Linked DNA regions of Homo sapiens: regions 1 and 3 are each linked to region 2. Evidence: promoter capture Hi-C in 16 types of primary human blood cells and fetal thymus (Javierre and others, 2016). All regions are on one chromosome and are shown on one strand. Each heading gives the region's core, a stretch centred on a gene start or on the middle of the fragment in contact. The rest is flanking DNA. Distances are from core to core; before and after follow the strand shown.

Region 1 (2,934 bases), core at 273-2,772, 190 kb before region 2:
TCAGTATTCAAATTATAGTGGGAATTAATAGCTTAATGAAATATTATAAATCCTCTGATTAAGAGGTTATGGTAGGTACAATACTTGTACAGCAAAAATGAGATTGTTTTCATCTTGAAATTTGTAACATGGCATCATGATATCTTTGTAAAGTTTGTAGCACTTTAAAAAAGTCTTAAAATATGAATAGTTATTCTTTAGATATTTCTTAAAGTTTATGATTGTGTCACTTTAGAGGATAAAGAAAAGAAAATCAGGTGTTAACCTGTAAATGAGAACTTAAAAAAATGAAAACAAAATATGATAACAAAACATTGAAAAATATGAAATTGAAAACAAAATATGAAAACAGAAATTGAAAACAAAGTATGTTTAAGCTTATCTCCTTTTAAAAAGTAGTGCATGTCATACTAAGCCATCTGCTGCGGACATTTATCAGGTAGACTGTGAAGTAGGAGGATATTCCCAAGCACAGAGGAGGCAATCAGCATGGTGTGCTTTGTGAGCACAAGTTGTCCACTATGAAGCACAGGTTGGAGGTATAGATGATGCTAGAGATATATCTCTCATTTGCTGATATGGAAAATGCATGGCTTTCTTCTCTCAAATGTCTTTACTGCCTATCTGTATCTGAGATTTGAATTTTGGAAGTTTTCGAAGATATTTAATGGCCATTTTCTAAGGTATGGCTATATAAAAATATAAGGAAGGTAGAAAGGAGAGAATACAATCACAAAATGATAAAATAAAAATTATAAGAATATATTTATTAGCTCTAAGTGCTATTCTCTAAATCTTAAAATTTCTAATGGGGTTTCATATCATATGGGTTTTTTTTTCCCAAACAGATATTCATAGACAATTTCTACTTGCAAAAAAGCTGTGGGAAATGTCCAACCAAAAGGAGGCTGGAGTGAAAAATCTGTGGCAGGTTTTTGTTGATGAATTTATTCAGATTACAAATACAATTTACATACTTAGATGCTTATTGTTATTGCAAAAGCCTTTGGAAAAAAATATTTGATCCACTATTTAAGATCTCTAATATCACAAATGTCTTTTAAATTGACCTATATCTAACCCTGCCTGTCATCTCAACTCAGCCTGTTCTATTAACATCACATTTTTTTTCTAAATCCATTGCATGGAATTTAGAAATGGAATAGTGTTCAAATAATATGATGAAAAGGGAAAACAAAGAGCCTTCTAAATTGGGTTTCCCAAGTGTTTTTTTTTTTTCTCATTGTGCTGTCTTTCTCACATTTGTAGACCCAGTAACACAATGACATGATCATAGTTCATTGGTCATAAAGACTAACTCATACTAACCAAATTTAAGTAAACTGATTTTTATTTCATCAGTTCACAATAAGGGATTTTCATTTCCAGCCATTAAGATATCCTTCTTCTACCCAAGTAAATTCCTACCCAGTTATAGAGTCTGGGGTTGTTGAATTGGCTATTAGGATGTTCATTGATAGGCACAGAATCAGAGAAAGAGAAACAGAAAGTTTGAGATAGGTTTTACTCGTCCATGGTGAGGCTCTTCACATCTTCCCTGCTGCACAACTGGTTCCACTTCTCTAGTGAGTAAGAAATGTGTTTGTAAGATTTCATGTCTGTTTTCTTTAGCAAGTGTTGAAGAACTACTGCCAAACTCATTCTCTGCTTTTCATTTTTCTATGACTCATAAAGATTGTTTCCACTTTTCTTAACACATTTCTTCTTTATGAAGATTTTTGTCACCCAGATTTGGAAGTCACATGGTGTAACTTCCACAGTACTCAGTGAGTAGAGGCAGTCACAAAGCCCTACCCATGTTCACTAGAAGGGGACATAGATGCCACCACAAAATCACAGGAGACTCAAGATCACATTGTAAGATCACATAATGAGAGATGCTGATGATGGGCATCTTTGCAAGTATAGTTTGCCACAATCCAGGCTCTGGTCACAACAATTCACGTTACTCTTAGAGGTAAAATGCATCCACCCCTGCCCCAAGATTTCCAAACTGTAATTCATTACAGCATCTGCTCAAAGCCCAGTATTTCATTATTTAGCTCAGGTCTATGTTCCTTAAATGCAGTTCCTCAAGTACAGCTTCTTCAGTACTGGAAGGAATTCAGTTCCTCTCAGTCTAAACACTTTTGAACTAAAAGAGACAAATTATCTGTTCTCTACCTTTCTCCTCACTGCCCCAACATATAATTCTGGGACAGGAATAAGATAACTACTCAAAACCGGGGGATATGATAGACAGTATTCACTGGTTCATAGCAGCTCTAATATGCAATGGGACATATTTTGCCAATTCTTTGATCAGTCCTATTCCTTGGGAGTTGTTCTCAATATTTCTCAGTTGTGTCTTCTGAGTTTCTCCTTTTCCACAAGAACAGGTCTTTGGTTTCATTTGAGGAGCCTTTTCAGCCTGCTCTCTGCCTGTAGAATATTGTGAGTACAAAGGTTTCTTCTCATCTGGTACTGTTTCTGCTCTTTTCCATGTGTGATCTCAGTGCTTGTGCCAAAACATTTTTTTTAAATGTTGTGACTGTTTTATGAATCTTATTACGGTTCATCCCAATTTTAAAAAGTCACAAGTAGAAGTATCTTTAAGACTGGCCCTTGTCTATCTTGGAATCACTCAGGGCAGCTACCCACCAAAACACAAGCTTCATATTTTGGTGCAGAGAATCTGCAAGACATTCTCTTAAGCACTTGAAAGTGCTTTTTGTTTGTCTGAAAGCTTTTATGAGGCACTATATTAGAACTTTCTGAAGTTTTAACAAAATAGCTTATAGTCCCATCCAGAGTTTGACCTTTGGTGTGGTCCTTTCTTAATTTGAAAATCATTTCCAACCTGGAAACACTGGAAATGAAAAATAGTCTTATTTTCAAGCCCAACACGTCCTTAGTCCTTGATATTTATTAACA
Region 2 (3,079 bases), core at 265-2,764:
TAGAATGGGAATTAAAGGATGAGTTACAGACATTATTGATTATAGCTATGACCAAACCAATGAGCTGAAAGTGACAGGCTCTTCCTTTTTCTTTAAAACAATCCTTGAAAAATATCTGAGCTATTTAGTCTCCTGGAAAACTGTACATGGGAAACCCCGATCTCCAGAAAGTAAAAAGGGCCCCCAAAAATCGACCTTTTTTTTTTTCTCTGCCAGCTTGTCAAATGGAGAAAAGAGAACACAAACATGAAGGCTGGATTTGGGGCTTCTAACACATTTTAGCAACTTATTTTACATATATATATATATATATATATATATATATATATATATATGTAAAACATTATCTGGGGCAAGGTCTAACACATTTCAAACCATTATGACAGAGGCAATTTGAAGTCAACTATCACAGGACATGTGATAAAGTTACTTTAAGGTTATCAAGAAATTACTTGATTTGTTCACTGATTTCTATCTTATGTGTTAGGAACTTTTCATTATTTTACAAATTAGTAAGTCATTGCTCCTAAAATTAAAAAAAAAGATGAACATCCAAACTTAATGGATTCAACAGACATTCTTAACATTCAATTTACACATTTAGCTACTGAAAATAAAACTTCATTCTTCCTTTCCCCTTCATTTTCTTATTTCCCGTTTGTTATCTGTTGAGGGAGAGAGAGAGCGCGCATCACAGGAAGGGAACCTCCAATACTTTGTCAATATTAAAGGAACCATAAAATATCAGGTTTTCTAAAGAAACACCAACAATTCTCCTAAGAATAAATATGTAGCATATTCACATATGTAAATTACTATAATAAAATTAATATTATTATGTGTAATTTATCCCCAATAATTTCATATGTATATATGTGAGGTGTGTGTATACACGTGAGTGTATCTGTATAGTCATTCTTTCTCTCACACACACATACACTCAATAAATCCAAAAGGCATGCTCTGTGAGGTTCTAAGAGAAAAGGACTTAAATTGCCCAGGGAGCGGAGCAGCCTTTAAATAAATCTGAAGTGCTCTTGTAATTGAGGTACAGCTCCTGCTTTTCAGCAAAGCACTGGTGCTGAGGCCTCTTCATTTAGAAATTCTCAAATTCTTTTTTCAGATATTTGTTCCCTGGTCAGCTTAGTCCCATTGGCACTTTCACCTGAAAAGGAGGGAGGTGGCGAAATAGAAATACGTGCCCCGACTCGGGAAGTGGGAGTCCCTTTCACACCCCAGCAATTGATCCCCTCTCTCCTCGCCGGCCCGCCCGCCGCTGCTCTTCTTCCAGGCACAATCGAAGAGGAGGCAGTGAGCGAGTCAAGGCCACAGAGTGGATGGAATCAAGGTTCACCCCCAAAGCTCACCTCCTTTGCAACCCGGATCCCCACTCCTCACCACCTACGGCCCCTCTTCCCTTCCATCCCCGCCCAGTCACCCAACGCTGAAGCCACCGCGGGGTGTGGGGGGGTGACGTGTGGGAAGAGCTGGGGGCTTCCTTCGCACCCACCCTCACGCGCCCTAGAATGTCCTCTGGGGAAGGGGCTGCCCATAACTTGGAGGAACTTAGAAGGCAAAACCTACTGCGCCCCAACCCTTAGAGGGGCCTCAACCCCGAAGGCGAGGGGCGAGATCAGGGACTCGGCGACGAGGGCGAGCGCCCCCGGGCTTACCACGAGCACGGGGACCCCGGCGGCCAGCGAGTAGAGGAGCACGGGGGGCACGGCGCTGCTGTCCTCCGGGCCCGGGTAGGGTTTGCGGTAGGCGCTGTCGTGGCAGAAGAAGCCCTGCACGTTCACGGTGAACGTGTCCGTATACTCGAAGTAGTACGCCAGCATCACCGTCCCTGCCATGATCACCATCTGGAAATAGAGCATGCTGCTGGTGAGCGCCGCGGGCAGCAGGGGCATGCACGCCTCCCGGGCCGGGCCGAGCCGAGCCGAGCGGGCGGTCGACGCGGTGGGCCCCCTCCCCGGTCCGCCGAGGCAGCCACCGGGGGCGCGGCGGCGGAGGCGGCGGGAGGACGAGGCACGGGAGGCGGGATGGAGCCGCTGGAGGAAGAGGCGGAGGCAGGTCCGGGCTTCGAGGCGCCGGCAGGCTGCAGAGGAGGCGGCTACCCCCGGACGAGCCCCCTCTCCCCTGCCCGCCCCCTGCCCGCCGCAAGCGCCGCCCGCCCCGGCGCGGGGTCGCGAGGGAGGGCGGGGAGTCCCGGGCGACGGGCAGCGGCCGCTGCGCCCCTGCACGAGACCATTCGAGAAGCAGCGGCGCTGGGTCAATCCCCCAGGCTAGCCCGGAGGAGGCGCTGCGTGGGCGGACGGGGCGGCAGCCGGCGGGACAGCGGCACCTGTACCCCTCACAGGGCGGACGCTGTGGGGCTGGAGAAGCTCCTGGCGGGGGTAAAATCAAAAGGGGGGGAGGGGAGGCAGTAGAGATGGAGCTTCCAGAAACTCTTCCGAGGCACCAGCTGAGAGGTTTAAGAAACCCGCACAACGCCTGGGAAAATGGTGCGTGGACGCGTCTTCCGAGCGCAAAGCCCACCAAGGCGCAAAGTGCCGATGCGGCGCCCAGAGTTTCAACCGGTGCGTTCAGCCTGCATCCCTCGAATTCCTTGACCCAGCCCGGGGCTGGAGCCTGGCGGTGGTTTCTAGGCGCTGTTAGAAAAATCTCAGCGAGGTTTCTTTGCCTCCTCTGCAGCTTCCTAGGGCTTTGTGTATATATATATGTATATACAAATAATAATAGAAATCATAGCCCAGTAGCTCCCGAAGCATCATCTCTTGTACAGCGGCCCCTTCCTGGATCCATGCATTCTCTTGCTCATCTTTTCAGTCTGTCTTTATTAGCTGCTTGTGAGAGGAGGCATTGCAGATTCCAGGCACTGAGCGGTCCCAGCCACCAGGGTAGGAAAAAGGACTATTTGCCTCATCTCGTTCTTTATTCCCTGAATTCCAGGGAACTGCAGGGATTCCTCAGGGGTCGGGATAAAGGAGAGGGAGACCAATGCTGGCTCACAGCACATGCATACAAAAATTCATCCGTCCATGGCTATCCACGCCTATGCGTGGGTATGTAACTAACT
Region 3 (2,821 bases), core at 154-2,653, 170 kb before region 2:
CTTTCACTACATGCAGATGCTGGAACCATGCTTCCTGTACAGCCTGCACAACCATGAGCCAAAATAAACCTTTTTTTCTTATAAATTACTCAGCTTCAAGTATTTATTCATAGTGATGCAAGAATGGACTAACACAATGACAATATGTCACTATATGTTTTATTACTTATAAAAGCTTACATGGTGTGGTAAGCAACTTTTAAGATGACCCCTAAAAGTCCCACCTCTTGTATTCACTCTCTTGTATAATTGCCTTCTGATTAAGTATGGCCTGGATTTATTTACTCAGTTGTAAAGAAAGAATATAGCAGAAGTGATGGTATGTCATTTCCAAAATCAAGTAATAAAGACTGTGACTTCTGAATTGGGGTTCTTTCTCTCCCACTCTCCCTTGGATTTCTTACCCCAGGAAAAGCCAGCTGCCATGTTATGTGGCCCTTTTCAGAGGCCCATGCAACAAGGGAACAAAAGGTCTGACAGTAAGCATGTAATGGTTATGAAATAGATTATACCTTCTCATATAACCACCCAGCTGAAACTTCAGATAAGACCACTGCCCTGGCTGACAGCCACCTTAATCAAAGATTTTGAGTGAGTTGTAACTGTTAAGCTGTGCTTGGATTTCTGACAGGCTTGTTAAACACTTCAGTGTTTTTATTGAAAGTCCAGAGGGACTATGGGGATTAGAAAAAGAACATGACCAGAACTAAAGGAATAATGATAAGATTAAGGGCAAAACTAAAATAGCTCCTTCCTAACAAAGCACACAGTGAATGGCCTTCACTAGTTCAAAGTAATCAGGTAATAATTTACAGACAAATATCAATACTCTTCAGAGGTATATAACAGAATTGACATGCTCCACAACTATTATCTAAAGTTTGTAGTCTAAAATTTTAAAGAAATTGTGAAGATGGAAAAAACAGATAAGTAAGCAAGAACTTTAAAATAACTATGGCAAATATCTTATCATGTACTTATCATGTACGTTTTGTACATGAAAAAGTAATATAATTATTGAAGTCCTGAGAAATTTCAGGAGATATCCAGAGCTACAAAAAGGAATCAAATGAAATTCTTAGAACTGCAAAATGCAATATCTGAAATAAAACATCCATTGGATGGAATTAACAATGGACTGGATAAAAACAGAAAAATGTATAAGTGGATTTGTAGATAGATCAATAGAAATTATTCAGGTCAAAACAAAAATATTGAAAAATGAAAGGAGCCTCAGTAATCTGTGGGACAGCATCAAGCTATATAATGAACTTGTAGTCCAGAAGACATGGATAGAGTGATGTATCAGAAAAACAGTTGAAGCAGAAAATATTAGGCAAAAAAAATTCAAATTGGATTATAAAAAGCAAACTAGAAAACCAGGAAGCTAAGCAAACCCCAAGAAAGATAAAAATGAAAAGAAAGCCATATTTAGTCACTTCAGCATCAAACTTCTAAGAAGCAATCATAAAGAGAAAATTGTAAAAGCAGCCAGAGGGAAAAAGACATATTACACACAAAAGAAAAAGAATATAAGTAATTGCTGACTCATCAGAAACAACAGAGGCCAGAGGCAATGTGACTACACCATTAAATAGATGTCAGGAAAAACAGCCTGTCAACTTAGAATTCTATATCCAGTGAAAATGTATTTCAAAACTAAAGGGAAAACAACAAAGCTATAAGAATATGTCACCAGCAGACAAGCAATACAACAAATGCTAAAGGAAACTCTTTGGGCTGAAACAAGTGACACCAGATGGAAATATGGGTCAACAGGAATGAGTGTAGAGAACTAAAAATGGTAAATATCAAAGACTAATTTTATTTTTTCTTACATTGTTTTTATTATCTTTTTTGCTTACATTACGTAAATGTTTTTATTTTTTACATTATTTCTTACATTGTTTTTTCTTACATTTAAAGTAAATTAACTATTTACAAAACAGTAAGTGAATCTTTCAAAGTTGAAGAACATGAGTCAGTATAAAAAACAATTAAATTCCTATATTTAGTACAAGTGGAATATAAAATAAAATGAAACAATATTATTTTCAATACTATCAAAATTATAAAGTATTATGAATGCATTTAATAAAAATCTTCAATATTTCCACAATGAAAATTACCCATAGAAATTTAAAAAGATTTAAATAAATGGAATACTATATCTATTATATTCATGGATTCAAAAATTTTATATTGTTGTCAATTGTTGTTAATTATTCTCATATTGATCTATAGATTCAGTGCTAAATCAAAATATCTGCAGGATTTCTGTTTTAGAAAAAATTGTCTGACACTAAAGTTTGTATCAAAATACAAAGAAAGTAAATTAGCCAAATCTGTCACAAGAATGAATTTGGAAAATATATACTTAAGTAAGACTTTCTTTAAAGAGTTAGTAATATACACACTGTGGTATTTAAAATAAAATAAACAAATAAATAAGCATACATTTAACTGAACAAGTAAATAAACAGGTAAATAATAAATGTGACACATAGAGATTTCAGAAATAGACCCAAATGTATATAACCACTTACATAGGTGCCAAGGTAATTCAATTGAGGATGGATAGTTTTTTTCAACAAATGTTACTAGAATAAGAAGATATACAATTAAAAAAAATTAAGCTTTACCCATACCTCACACCATACACAAGATTAATTCAAGATGTATCATGGACCCAAATGTAAAAGCAAAATCTCTACAACTTCCACAATGTTGTAAATCCAACCAACATTACATATATAATTTCAATCAACATTATATGTACATAATGTTGATTGAATTAATGCAGATACAAAAAGACTCTACA

Evidence for each region. The method cuts DNA at HindIII sites, captures the fragments that hold promoters and counts their contacts. A CHiCAGO score of 5 or more calls a contact.
Region 1: a contact is called between a fragment that was not itself captured here and the fragment with the promoter of PLPPR5-AS1 in region 2, in 8 of 17 cell types (neutrophils, non-activated CD4 T cells, activated CD4 T cells and 5 more). The highest score is 8.9, in neutrophils.
Region 3: a fragment that was not itself captured here is called in contact with the fragment with the promoter of PLPPR5-AS1 in region 2 in 1 of 17 cell types (M2 macrophages); the score reaches 5.2 in M2 macrophages.

What each region holds. Positions count from the first base shown.
Region 1 is chr1:98,812,360-98,815,293 of GRCh38, forward strand. No RefSeq gene overlaps it. Among named protein-coding and RNA genes, the nearest start is that of SNX7, 150 kb to the left of the region's middle. The HindIII fragment of the contact is 2,295 bases long and covers 376-2,670 here.
Region 2 is chr1:99,002,762-99,005,840 of GRCh38, forward strand. PLPPR5-AS1 (PLPPR5 antisense RNA 1) reads left to right here and starts at 1,515. Exons shown (of 3, transcript NR_033940.1): 1 at 1,515-1,884. It overlaps PLPPR5 (phospholipid phosphatase related 5), which reads right to left and starts at 2,100. Exons shown (of 6, transcript NM_001037317.2): 1 at 1,674-2,100. The coding sequence starts at 1,910. RefSeq lists an enhancer at 958-1,932. The HindIII fragment of the contact is 4,191 bases long and covers 1-3,079 here.
Region 3 is chr1:98,828,668-98,831,488 of GRCh38, forward strand. No RefSeq gene overlaps it. Among named protein-coding and RNA genes, the nearest start is that of SNX7, 170 kb to the left of the region's middle. The HindIII fragment of the contact is 2,461 bases long and covers 174-2,634 here.